Regions from separate parts of the Homo sapiens genome. Here region 2 is linked to region 1. Evidence: promoter capture Hi-C in human tissues and cell types (Jung and others, 2019). All regions are on one chromosome and are shown on one strand. Each heading gives the region's core, a stretch centred on a gene start or on the middle of the fragment in contact. The rest is flanking DNA. Distances are from core to core; before and after follow the strand shown.

What was found. The method cuts DNA at HindIII sites, captures the fragments that hold promoters and counts their contacts. A contact is called where the count stands out against the background at its distance.
Region 2: a contact is called between a fragment that was not itself captured here and the fragment with the promoter of UBR4 in region 1, in 1 of the 25 tissues and cell types used here (pancreas).

Annotation. Positions count from the first base shown.
Region 1 is chr1:19,208,286-19,213,694 of GRCh38, forward strand. It overlaps UBR4 (ubiquitin protein ligase E3 component n-recognin 4), which reads right to left and starts at 1,981. Exons shown (of 106, transcript NM_020765.3): 1 at 1,788-1,981. The coding sequence starts at 1,963. It overlaps EMC1-AS1 (EMC1 antisense RNA 1), which reads left to right and starts at 2,101. Exons shown (of 2, transcript NR_135114.1): 1 at 2,101-2,274. RefSeq lists silencers at 1,651-1,970, 2,996-3,065 and enhancers at 2,021-2,070, 2,321-2,370. The HindIII fragment of the contact is 7,870 bases long and covers 1-3,272 here.
Region 2 is chr1:19,006,278-19,011,686 of GRCh38, forward strand. All of the region lies in intron 1 of LOC105376815 (a long non-coding RNA gene), which reads right to left. Among named protein-coding and RNA genes, the nearest start is that of IFFO2, 52 kb to the left of the region's middle. RefSeq lists enhancers at 2,008-2,651, 4,380-5,409, 4,995-5,054. The HindIII fragment of the contact is 6,337 bases long and covers 1-5,162 here.

The DNA.
Region 1 (5,409 bases), core at 731-3,230:
TGAAACCTCATCTCTACTTAAAATACAAAAAGTTAGCTGGGCGTGGTGGCAGGCACCTGTAGTCCCAGCTACTTGGGAGGCTGAGGCAGGAGAATGGTGTGAACCTGGGAGGTGGAGCTTGCAGTGAGCTGAGATGGCGCCACTGCATTCCAGCCTGGGTGACAGAGCAAGAATCCATCTCAAAAAAAAAAAAAAAAAAAAAAAGAGATCTTGCCTTCCAATAAATGCGTTACCAAAGACCCATCAGTTTGGACTTATTTTCTAAGCCATAAAGAGAGATCTTATTAATGTCTACAAATACAACTCTTGATTATTTGTACAAACAGAGGGTATGGCAAAGACCACTACCACATACATGGCAAAATTCAAACCTAGTGATGTATTTGGTTGGAGGGTGTTCCTTAAGTATTACAGCTTTAAAGGTGGCCCCAGAATACAGGATTTATGGAAGGGTGTCAACAAATTATTAATATTTTATAACCTATCCAGCTCATGTCCAGAAAAACATAAAAGCAAATGCTCTAAAAAGACTGGAACGTTACTGATTCTACGTAACATGAGTATGAGTCAGGAAAAATACTGCCAATCCAAATGTTTAAAACAAAAAGCAGCCACGTAATTTGAAAGTAGTATATTTGAAACCTGTTTACATCTTCAGAACATTCCTGGCCTGATGATTAGATAGCAAAATCCGTCTGTAAAGCTGACTGTGAAGTTACCAAACTCAACCATTATTTTATTATAATTTGTTAAAAACTCTGCATCCAAAGGATTACAAGTCTACAACAAGAAAAAGCACAAAAACAATTTGTCAAACCGTGGGCCTCCTTTGAGTAACAAATAGCAATTTTTAACCTCTGGATAGCAGCTAGATATACCCTTGTCATCGTGAAGCTAAAATGACCCAGTTAACAATTGCAGGGAGTTGCTGAAATGAGGTATGGCTAGAAAAATGAAAGTCAGTCTGGCTTTAAAAGCAAAAGTCTACCATTAAACTAATGAAAGACTGCTCTGAGCACAGTATGTCAGGAAAAGGCAGGCACTCTGAGATCACCATCTTTGTACCTACATAACTGTCACTAGCTAAGAATCGCTGTGCAAAAAGACAAAAACACACAAAAGGAAACCAACAGATAGTACCGTTTGTAAAAGAATGTGATGATATTTTAATGCGAGGGGGATGGGAGGCAGCAAGAGAACACACACACCACACATCCTCTGGGAAAATGATCTCTCAGACACACACTGAAATGTTTTTAATCAAAGACCGATACAGTAGGAATGCACAAGGAGTGCAACGTAAAAAGAGGTCATCAATGTAGCTAGTGGCTTCAGTCACAGAAATAGCACGTGCCCCCACTGATTACAGCACCGCGGGGAGACCGTTATTAAATTATACCGTACGGCTCCGCTCCGGCCCAGGCTAGGAGGATGAGTGCGGGCGAGAAATGCAAACTCATCTGTGACTTGACCCAAGGGGCAGCCCCGTGAACATTCCCTTAAGAGGGCGAATGCATCTCACTCTCAACCATGTCCGGCCACGCCCTCCCGCAGGGAGGCCGCTAAAGTTTTGCTCGAGAGGGGAAACTGAGGTAGAGGTGATTTACATGCGTTGGCGGAGGGAAACCCAGGCAAGCCAGTCTCCCCGGGCCCGGGACCCCGAAGCCGTGGCTGTGGCGGGGATCCTCAAGGGGGCAGGGGGCGGCCCGGAAAGCGGGTCCAGACGATCCGGCTCGAAATCCCCTCCCCCCACAACAGCGTCGCCCGCCAGAGCCGCCGCCCGGTACCTCTCGATGACTGAGGCCACCAGCTGCGGCAACTCCTTCATCTCGAAGGCGGAGTAGGACGCGGACAGCAGGGGCCGCACAGCCACCTCCCAGCCCGGGGTCGTGTCCGCCCCCGTTGCCGGGGTCCCCGGCGCCGGAGCCGCTGCCGCCGCCTCTTCGCCGCCGCTCGTCGCCATCTTCCGTCGTACTACTGCGGCTCCCTCCGGGGGCTTGCCACCGGCCCAGCGCCGCCTCCCAGGAGGGGGCGGAAGTGACGCAATCTGTCGCGTCAGACTGCGCGCCGCCGTCATGGGTCAAAAACGCGACGCGCGGAGCGGCCTTTGCTCTCACCGGGGTCGAGCCGCGGCGAGGGAACGGATCGGAGACGCTGCGCCTGCTCAGAAGGTAGCGCAGCGGGGAAAGGCGGGAGAGCGTTAACTTCTGAGCCTGCGCGGTGGGAGTTGCTCAAGCAGGTGGTAGCGACTTGGCTTCCGGGCAGCGGGTAAAGGTGAGTCTGGGGCATGGGTTCAGTGGGCAAGTCTAGGGCAGCAGAGTTGACTACGCCTCGGCGTATAGAATGGCCCTGGCCTGGGACAGCTAAGGACGACAAGAGGAGGCCGAAGCCTAAAACGCTTTCACCTGCTTCTTCCCCTGCCTAGATCCCCCCAATAGTAATACTAAAGAGCGCCATAGTTTACAAAGATTTCTCCCTCTCACAACACCTTTTAATCACTGATCCGTATTCCCTTAGCACTCAAATCTCTTCTGTTTGGATTGCCCTCATTAACAATCTGACCAGCTCGTACAATGCATCCCTCTTTGCAATTTGCCACGTATGCTTACGTGTTCCCCTTTTTTCTACTGGCAAGGAAAGAATGTAAGCTTTTATTCACAGGAGATGTCTGAGACTTTTGCCGGTAAAATGATCTGGCTACAAGGTCTAAGAGGGAAAAGCAGTTTGCTCGAGGAAAGGTATTCGTGCATTAAGGACAGTCCTGTGAGTGAGATATTGGTGGACGGCTTCAAGCTCTAGCCTGTGGCCTACAGCTGGCCTAAATAAGACTGGGAAGGAACTGTGAAGACGGTTTCAAATTCCTAAAGCCCTGAAATTCTCCCCCTAAGTTTAGGAAGAGCTTTTGTTCTTGGTGTGTAACACTGATAAATGAATTGGTACCTAGTGATTAATCTGCACTTTTATTAAGATATGACCTACTTTACCTTTTTTGAGACAGGATCTTGCTCTGTCGCCCAATAGCCCAGGCTGGAGTGCAGTGGCAGAGTTGCAGCTGGCTGCAGCCTCCACCTCCCTGGCTCAAGTGATCTTCCAGCCTCAGCCTCCCCAGTAGCTGAGACTATACAGGTGCAGGCCACCACTCTTAATTTTTTTTGTTTGTTTTTAAGAGACAGGTCTCCCTACGTAGCCCAAGCTGTTTTCGAAGTCCTAGGTTCCTCCCACCTTGGACTCCCAAAGTGCTGGGATTACAGGCTTGACCCACTGCGCCCAGCCTGCATCTTTACATTCGAAATAAAATTCAGTCAAGTCAAAGCCGGTCTTGGAGGAAAATGTGGCTTTGATGACAGCAGTAGGGATTTTCCTTCAGTGCCTACTTACCAGAGGATAATAATAACAGCAAGTTTCTTAAACATAAAAACATCAGAAATGAAAAAGAACTTTCCATAACACTATAAATATTGCAGTATTTCAAGATACTGAACCAGAGCCCTAAGGAAAGGCTGGAGACCCAGAATTTTATAATGGCTTTGGGACATGAATTTTATTTTAACCAGAGGACAAAATTAATCTGCAAAAGCTGTCTTGGAGAAATTTCAGGAAATAAAAGATCAAATGTATCTGCTGTCCTCCCTTCCCTCTCCAGGAGAATAAAAGGCAAATGCAAACTATCACAGGGAGATTTTCACCTTTACCTAAATTATTTATTATATACTTTATATTTCTGGTTAATAGATTGGGAGAGAGCACTCCAGATAAAGAACTTCCTTTATAAATGCCACATTTATTTCAGTACTGGAGGTTTGGTCTTGTGTTGCCACAAAGATTTGGAATGGCATCTATGTTATAAATTTAGATGACAAAAGAGACTAATAAAAGACTTCTAGATGAAACACAAGCTTCTAATATTCTGGTCCAGGAAATAAGATAGAAACTAAAAAACAATAAATAACTTTTATGAATTAACTGAAGGACTTAAAATACTTGTTCCATTCTAATCCCAAGTGTCTGCCAAGGAACTGAAATTTAAAATGATAAAAGACATGATACAGTCATGTTACAGGGAATTCAATGAAGTAAAAATGGCAGACATTGATGAATGGTATGGTTTAAAGATTTGTGTAGAGGTAGTGATGAGGAGGCCTGCTGGGAGCTGGAAAAGTTCTATACCTTGACACAGTTATGCTTACATGGATATACACACACAGTAGTCACTAAGCCATGATTTGTACTTATGATTTGCACACTTTGGTGGTTGTAAATTGTACAGCAATCTAAAAACAAATGAGGTCAGTGTGCCTCACTACAGAGCTTCAAAAGTGGTAGATAGCACATCTCTTTTTTCTTTTAAGCCATCTAATACAGAGTTGCTTGGAATAAATCCTAATAGATACAGTGTTTCTAGAAACAAGTAAATGAATAAACCTTAGCTGTTACCCCGTAGGAGCCAACAGAGGTCAATCTGTTCTCAAGCTTTTACAAAGTTACAAGAACAAGTAATCAGTGCATATTTTGTTGAAACTCCTACTGCAATACTGAAAACTTCAAATGGAGAGCAGCTCCTTTTTGGTAATTCACAACAGACTTAGTTTTCAAATTACCAAGAATATAAGGAATTAGATTAGAAGCCTAATTCAATTTAGAATTATGAGACATTATTTGTAACCCACAAGTATTATTTTTCCCATGATACTGAACAATTCACCTGGCATGAACTTAAAAGAAGAAAATGCTTATTGCAGCCTTCTTGCTTTAAGAGCGAAAAAAACAATTTTGCTAGCTGTGGAGGGACTAGAATACAATGTCACTTTAAGATTTACACTCTCAAAAGTTTTGACCTATCAGATTGAGAGCCAGAGAGAGAGACAGACAGAAGGAGAAGGATAAATCAAATGTGGTAAAATGTTAACCTTTGGGGGATCTGGGTAGAGGGGATCTGGGAATTATTTGTACTATTGCAACTTTTCTGTAAGTCTGAAATTGTGTTGTCAAAAGTCAAAAGAAAAAATTTATAAATACTTTATCATCCATTTGCTTTATAATTAGGTACAGAGTATGATGACAGAGAGAGCCTACTGTATGCCAGATACTTAACAGAAGGAAAGTAGTTTATATGTAAACTCTGGGAAAAGTGGAGCCAAATGATTACACTGTGTGTACCCTTTAGCACTGTTTGGGGTGGGGACATGGGGGGTCAGGGTGCAGAGAGGGACTGTTCTGGTCTCCTTGGAAGGTATGTGCCTATAGTAAAAAGCATGAGTAAGATATCACATCTCCTAACTCCGTAACAACCAAGCAAACTTATAATAGCATTTTAACTTATATCACCTTTTTTATAGGAGCGGATATATATTCCAGCAGCATGAGTATTTTAGCCCTCTTTGCAATTGCAGTCTTCATTCATTATCATCA
Region 2 (5,409 bases), core at 744-3,243, 200 kb before region 1:
TTTGTGACTTCCCCTGATTCGCTGGTGGCCACCCAGCCCAGTGCCTGTCACATAGCCATCTTCTAGCAAATGGTGAAAGAATAAACAAACAATAATTGCAAACATGTATGTAGCACTTTCCAAATGCCAGACACTGATTACAGATCAGGAAACAGAGGCACGGAGAAGTCAAGGTACTTGTCAGGGTCACAGAACTAAATGGCAGAGCTGGGCTTCAAACCCAGGCAAACTGGCTTCAGAGTCCATGCTATCCATCGTTATGCTACGATGTCACTCAGCAGAAGAATGAATGAATAAATGAATGAACAAATAAAGATAGGAATGAAGGAGGGAACAAATGAATGAGCAAAGGAATAATTTAAGTAAAGGAATGCCCAGGGGCCTGGTCCCGGGCTGCTTTGCAGACATCAACCAATTGCACTGTCTTTAAGTTGCCCTTGTCATTGTCCATCTGATGCCATTTTTCATATTTTAGTTGCTGCCTGTGGAGGCACCAGAAGTTTGTCCCTCCTCCCCCTTCACCCCTGTACCAGGATCAACCAGATCTCCCTCCCTTCCTAACTCCCCCATTGCAGCTCACAGGGTAATGAGCATCAGTACTGCAGAATCACTGCATGTTACAGCTGGAAGGTACACTTAGCACTATCCAGTCCAATCTTCCATTTTGTAGATGGAAAAATGGAGGCCCAGAGAGGCAAAGCAATTTCCCCAAGGTCACACAGCAAGTTAGTGGCAGAGTCAAGAGTGGGCCCAGTCTCCTGATTTTCCATCTGTCTCCCTTTACTAAGCTGTCTCTATTGCTTGAACTTTGTCAATCGAAAGCCATTCGGGGCAAAGTACAACAGATGGGTTTAGTGAGTTCTCAAATGCACTGTTGAGAAAAGTTCCTGGGAATAGGGAGGTGAGAAATGCAAGGTCAAGGCCCTGCAATTTCCTCCAGGCAGGGAAATAAATAACCAAAACCATCACTGAGGACTCACCATGTGCTAGATGCTTCCCTGCATTATCCCATTTCGTCCTCCGACAGATAGTAACTATCCTGGTTTTAGATATGAGCAAATTGAGGTTCAGAGAGGTAAACAGAGCGATCAACACATCCCCAGTTTCTTGGCACTGTCCCAGTTCTAAAACTGGAAGTCCCATGTCTCAGGAACCCCTTTAGTCCCAGGCAAACCAGGACAGTGGGTCACCCCCGAGGTAAGCAGCCCACCCAGAGGACTGGATCCCAGAGATCCAAGCTCAGACCTCCTGTGGATTTCCATGCCCTTTCTCCTACACCACACTGCACCCTCTGGGAAAATACATAAACTCTCATGGGAAAAATAAACAGATAAGCAGGTGGGGTCAGGAGTGGGGAGTGGGAAGTGGGCCAGAGGAGGGTGGGCACCAAGAGGCAGTTCTGAAGTCAGGTCAGCCCTGGGTCACAGCAGCCCAGCCATCTGGGAGGTAGAATGCTACTGGGTGTCAGGCCAGGAGAGGACAAACAAGGTTCTTATTCTTCCCTCTTTATCTGGAGGAGTCTGTTTGTGGCAATAACCCTGTTATCTCAGCCAGGTCTCTGGTCTCTTGCCAGGCTGTGACAAGGGGTTTAGGGGCTGAGGCTCTGACCAAACCAGTCTCCCTGGGACCCTGGCATGCTCTCCCTCCTCATCTGACAACCTGATCGGGGTCGAGGAGGCATGGTGAGCACCACAGGGCAGGGGACCCCTGCCCACCCATGGAGGCCACAGGGAGATGAGGACCCCACACTTGGACAGTGGATTTCCCTGTCGTCACGAGGGGATTTGAGAGTAGCTGACCTCCTGCTAGGAGCCAGACTCCTGACTGCTGTGGTCTCTTTCAACCTTCTCCTCCCTAAAGCACTCAGACAGGCATCCTCACCTCTACCTTACAGAAGCGGAGGGGATGTCCCTTAGAGAAGTCACATAGCATGTCGGTGACACAGGGCGGCCAGGGCACAGCAGTGACTCCAACTCTCCCTGCCTCCCAAGCCTCCTCACGAGACTGTCAAACAATGGTGGAGACATAGACTCTGTCTTGGCTGCGTGTCTCTGTGACTTGCTTACCACACCACACCTGCCCAGACACCTCTCCTGCCCGGACACCTCTCCCACCCTCCTCCACAGGGTGATTTGTCCTCGTCCTAGGACCTCAAGCTTGGCCTCCCCTGACCTTCAGGCTGGGGTGAGTGCCCTGTCTTAGAACTCATGGTGGCCTCTGCTGGGGCAACCACAGTTCGTGGGGATTGGGGTGTAAAAAGCACCTCCTGACCCCTTCTGCACTAAGACCCCAAGAGGACAGGAACTGACTCCCTACCCCAGCACTGATATATTAGGTTGGTGCAAAAGTAATTGCATTAATTGCATTAAAAGTCATGGCAAAAACGAAAACATTAAGTAGTTTTTGCCATTACTTTTTTTTTTTTTTTTTAGACAAAGTCTCACTCTATTGCCCAGGCTGGAGTGCAATGGCACAATCTTGGCTCACTGCAACCTCTGCCTCCCGGGTTCAAGCGATTCTCCTGCCTCAGCCTCCTGAGTAGCTGGGATTACAGATGCGCACCACCACGCCTGGCTAATTTTTGTATTTTAGTAGAGATAGGGTTTCACCATATTGGTCAGGCTGGTCTCGAACTCCTGACCTCATGATCAACCCACCTCAGCCTCCCAAAGTGCTGGGATTACAGGCGTGAGCCCCTGCACCCAGCCAGCCATTACTTTTCATTGTAATTCATGCAATTAGTTTTGCATTAAAAGTAATGGCAAAAGATACTTAATATCTATTTGTTGCACAAACAAATAAGTAGATTAATTAATTCATTGCCAAATACTCTTGAGCTCCAATTCAGTCAGGTGGCATCCTGAAGGCAATGGCCCACCTAAAAGTCTCCCAGCTGCTGCCTCTGTTCCACCCCCCCCCACCCTCCCACTGGCCTTCCTCCGTCACCACTTGACTCAAAGTGTGGTCCCCAGATCCACAGTACCAGCATCACCAAGAGCTTGTTGGAAATGGAACAACTCCGTCCCCCCCAGACCCCGGGACCCTGGGCTGAGAGCCTGAAAACTGTTAGAAATCGTGACATACTGTCTTAGGTGAGCCTTGCTACAAGACCTAAAGTGTGCTGGCGTTATTCACATCGCTACAGATGAAGCTGGGGTTCAGGGAGGGGAGATAGCTTCTCAAGATTAAACAGCCAGGAAATGGTAGAGGTGGGATTCAAACTTGGGTTTGTCTCTCTTCAAAGCAGATGGAAATTGACGCTGCTATCCATGTGGTGAAAGGAGAGAAACCTGCATTTACTGAACACCCACAATGTGCCAAGTCCCGTACGACTCTGTCTCATTTCATCTTCCCCACTCCCTTATGAAGTAGGGGATCTCACATTCTCGTTTTACAGATGAGACTCCGAGGCGCAGGAAGGGGAGGTGACTTGCCCAAGGTCCACAGCTGGGAAACAGCTGAAATGGGGCGCAAAGCTGGAAGTCTGCTCCCCAACCTGGGGAATGGACACCAGGTGACGACATATAGTGCCCTCGCTCGGCAGCAGGCACTGGCTCTCAGGGGACTGCGGGGTCACTGCTTAGCTCACACCTGTCCTTTCTCTCCCCTGAGAGAGCTTGTGGCCTTGGGCCACATCCATGCTTTCTTTTTCTTCCTAACCCTCAGCCCTCAGCTTAGTCATTCTCCAGCCCTGATGGAGCACAAATGCATGCTGCTGGTGACGACTGGCTACCAAGGTGGGATGTCACCCTCCCAGCTATTCCCATCATTTGTCCTGGCGGGCGCCAAGAATTCCTGAGGTCACCTCAAGGCCCCTTCCTGCATTCCTAGCGTTCTTGTCACAGGGCTCTCCTTTCTGACCCCACATGTGAACCTCCGCTGCAGGCTGGGCTCACAGGCAAATGCATCACACCGTGGTGACTGGGGCAGGAGAGTGGGATCAGTGATGCCCTGCCTGTTCTGGATGTGAGACCTTGGCAGATTCCTTTGCCTGTCTGAGCCTCAGCTTCTCCATCTCTGAGAGGGGCGGGTAATAATCGGACCTCCCAAGGTGTTTGTAAGGAGCATTCAGGGTGCATGGAAGTGGCTGGGCCTTCTGTATCTCTCACTGCCAGCAATCAAAACATGGCCCAGGACTGTCTGATGGGTCAGCCAGCGGGACTGGGCAGCACACGAGCATCCATTTGTATGAGCAGCTCGCAGGGACAGGGGTCACTTGGAAGGAGAGGAGGGAAATGGGATTGGGCCCGGTGTGTGCCACATGAAGAGGTGGCTCTTGGGAGACCCAGGCAGGGGCTGGGCAGTGCTGCCCAGGGAGGAATATTTGCCCCAAATCTGCAGAGAACACACCTCCATGGCCCCAGGGAGGGAGGGGAGCTTCAGTAAACAGTCTCTTGGCATGAATCTCCACATTTCCACAGAGGACACCGGCCACAGTGGCCAGACCTGTTTAGTGACCTGAAGGGCAAACAGCATAGAAGAGGAGAGGGGTGGCCAAAAGAAAGGAGGAGTGGGCAGGGGTCGGTGGTGGTTGTGGCTGGGGTTTGTGAGCACTCAGGACACACTCGACTCTCAGACCTAACCAGGTAAGGTTTTGCAGAAGCCAGACATGTAGGAGAGCATCTGGCAACCAGATCCACTGAAATTGGGTGGGTGCTATTAACGCAACCCGTTTATAAGTACAGGCTGGGGATGGCTGGAGAGACGGGCACCGCATAGAGGAGGCACACACCAGGAGGAGATGGCAAGGGCTCCAGACACGCAGCCACCAGAGCCCGCGTCCAGCCGAGGCTGGGCGCCCTGCAGCCTGTGTTCAACCACTTACCCTTGTCCAGACCTAGATACAGGGCAAAAAGGCATGCCTATGGGAGCCCCAGTAAAGTCCTTATAAAGTGAAGACTTCTTGGTGAGTCAGCCCGAGCCAGGCGGGCCCAGCTCATTCATTGCGAAAGTATTTTCTTTTCAGTGCTTTTCTGCAAAGCCTTTCACTGCCGCGGAGGTGAAGTCATCGGCTGGTAAACGCTCTGCCTTGCGGTAAATTTCCTCTGAACTTTCTGCTTCTGTTTAACTCGCCAAACCTCAAGGCGAGCTGGCAGTCAGAGTCGTGCAAAGGTCACTGGGCTGAGTTGGAGGCCTGGGTTTAAATCCCAGCCCAGCCTCTTTCTAGTTTCGGGATCTTGATGGATGTAAGTCACATCTTTGGGCTTTAGTTTCTCTGTGTCTAAAATGAAGTCACTACTATCAAAAGTATCCTAAAGAAATACAATGCTACGCACTCATGTAATCAAAAATATTTACTGAGTTCTTAGTGAGTGTTAAGTACCATGCCAGAAAATGGAAATTATGGTAAGGAAACACACATACACACACATATGCACATGTACACACATATGCACATATGCACATACA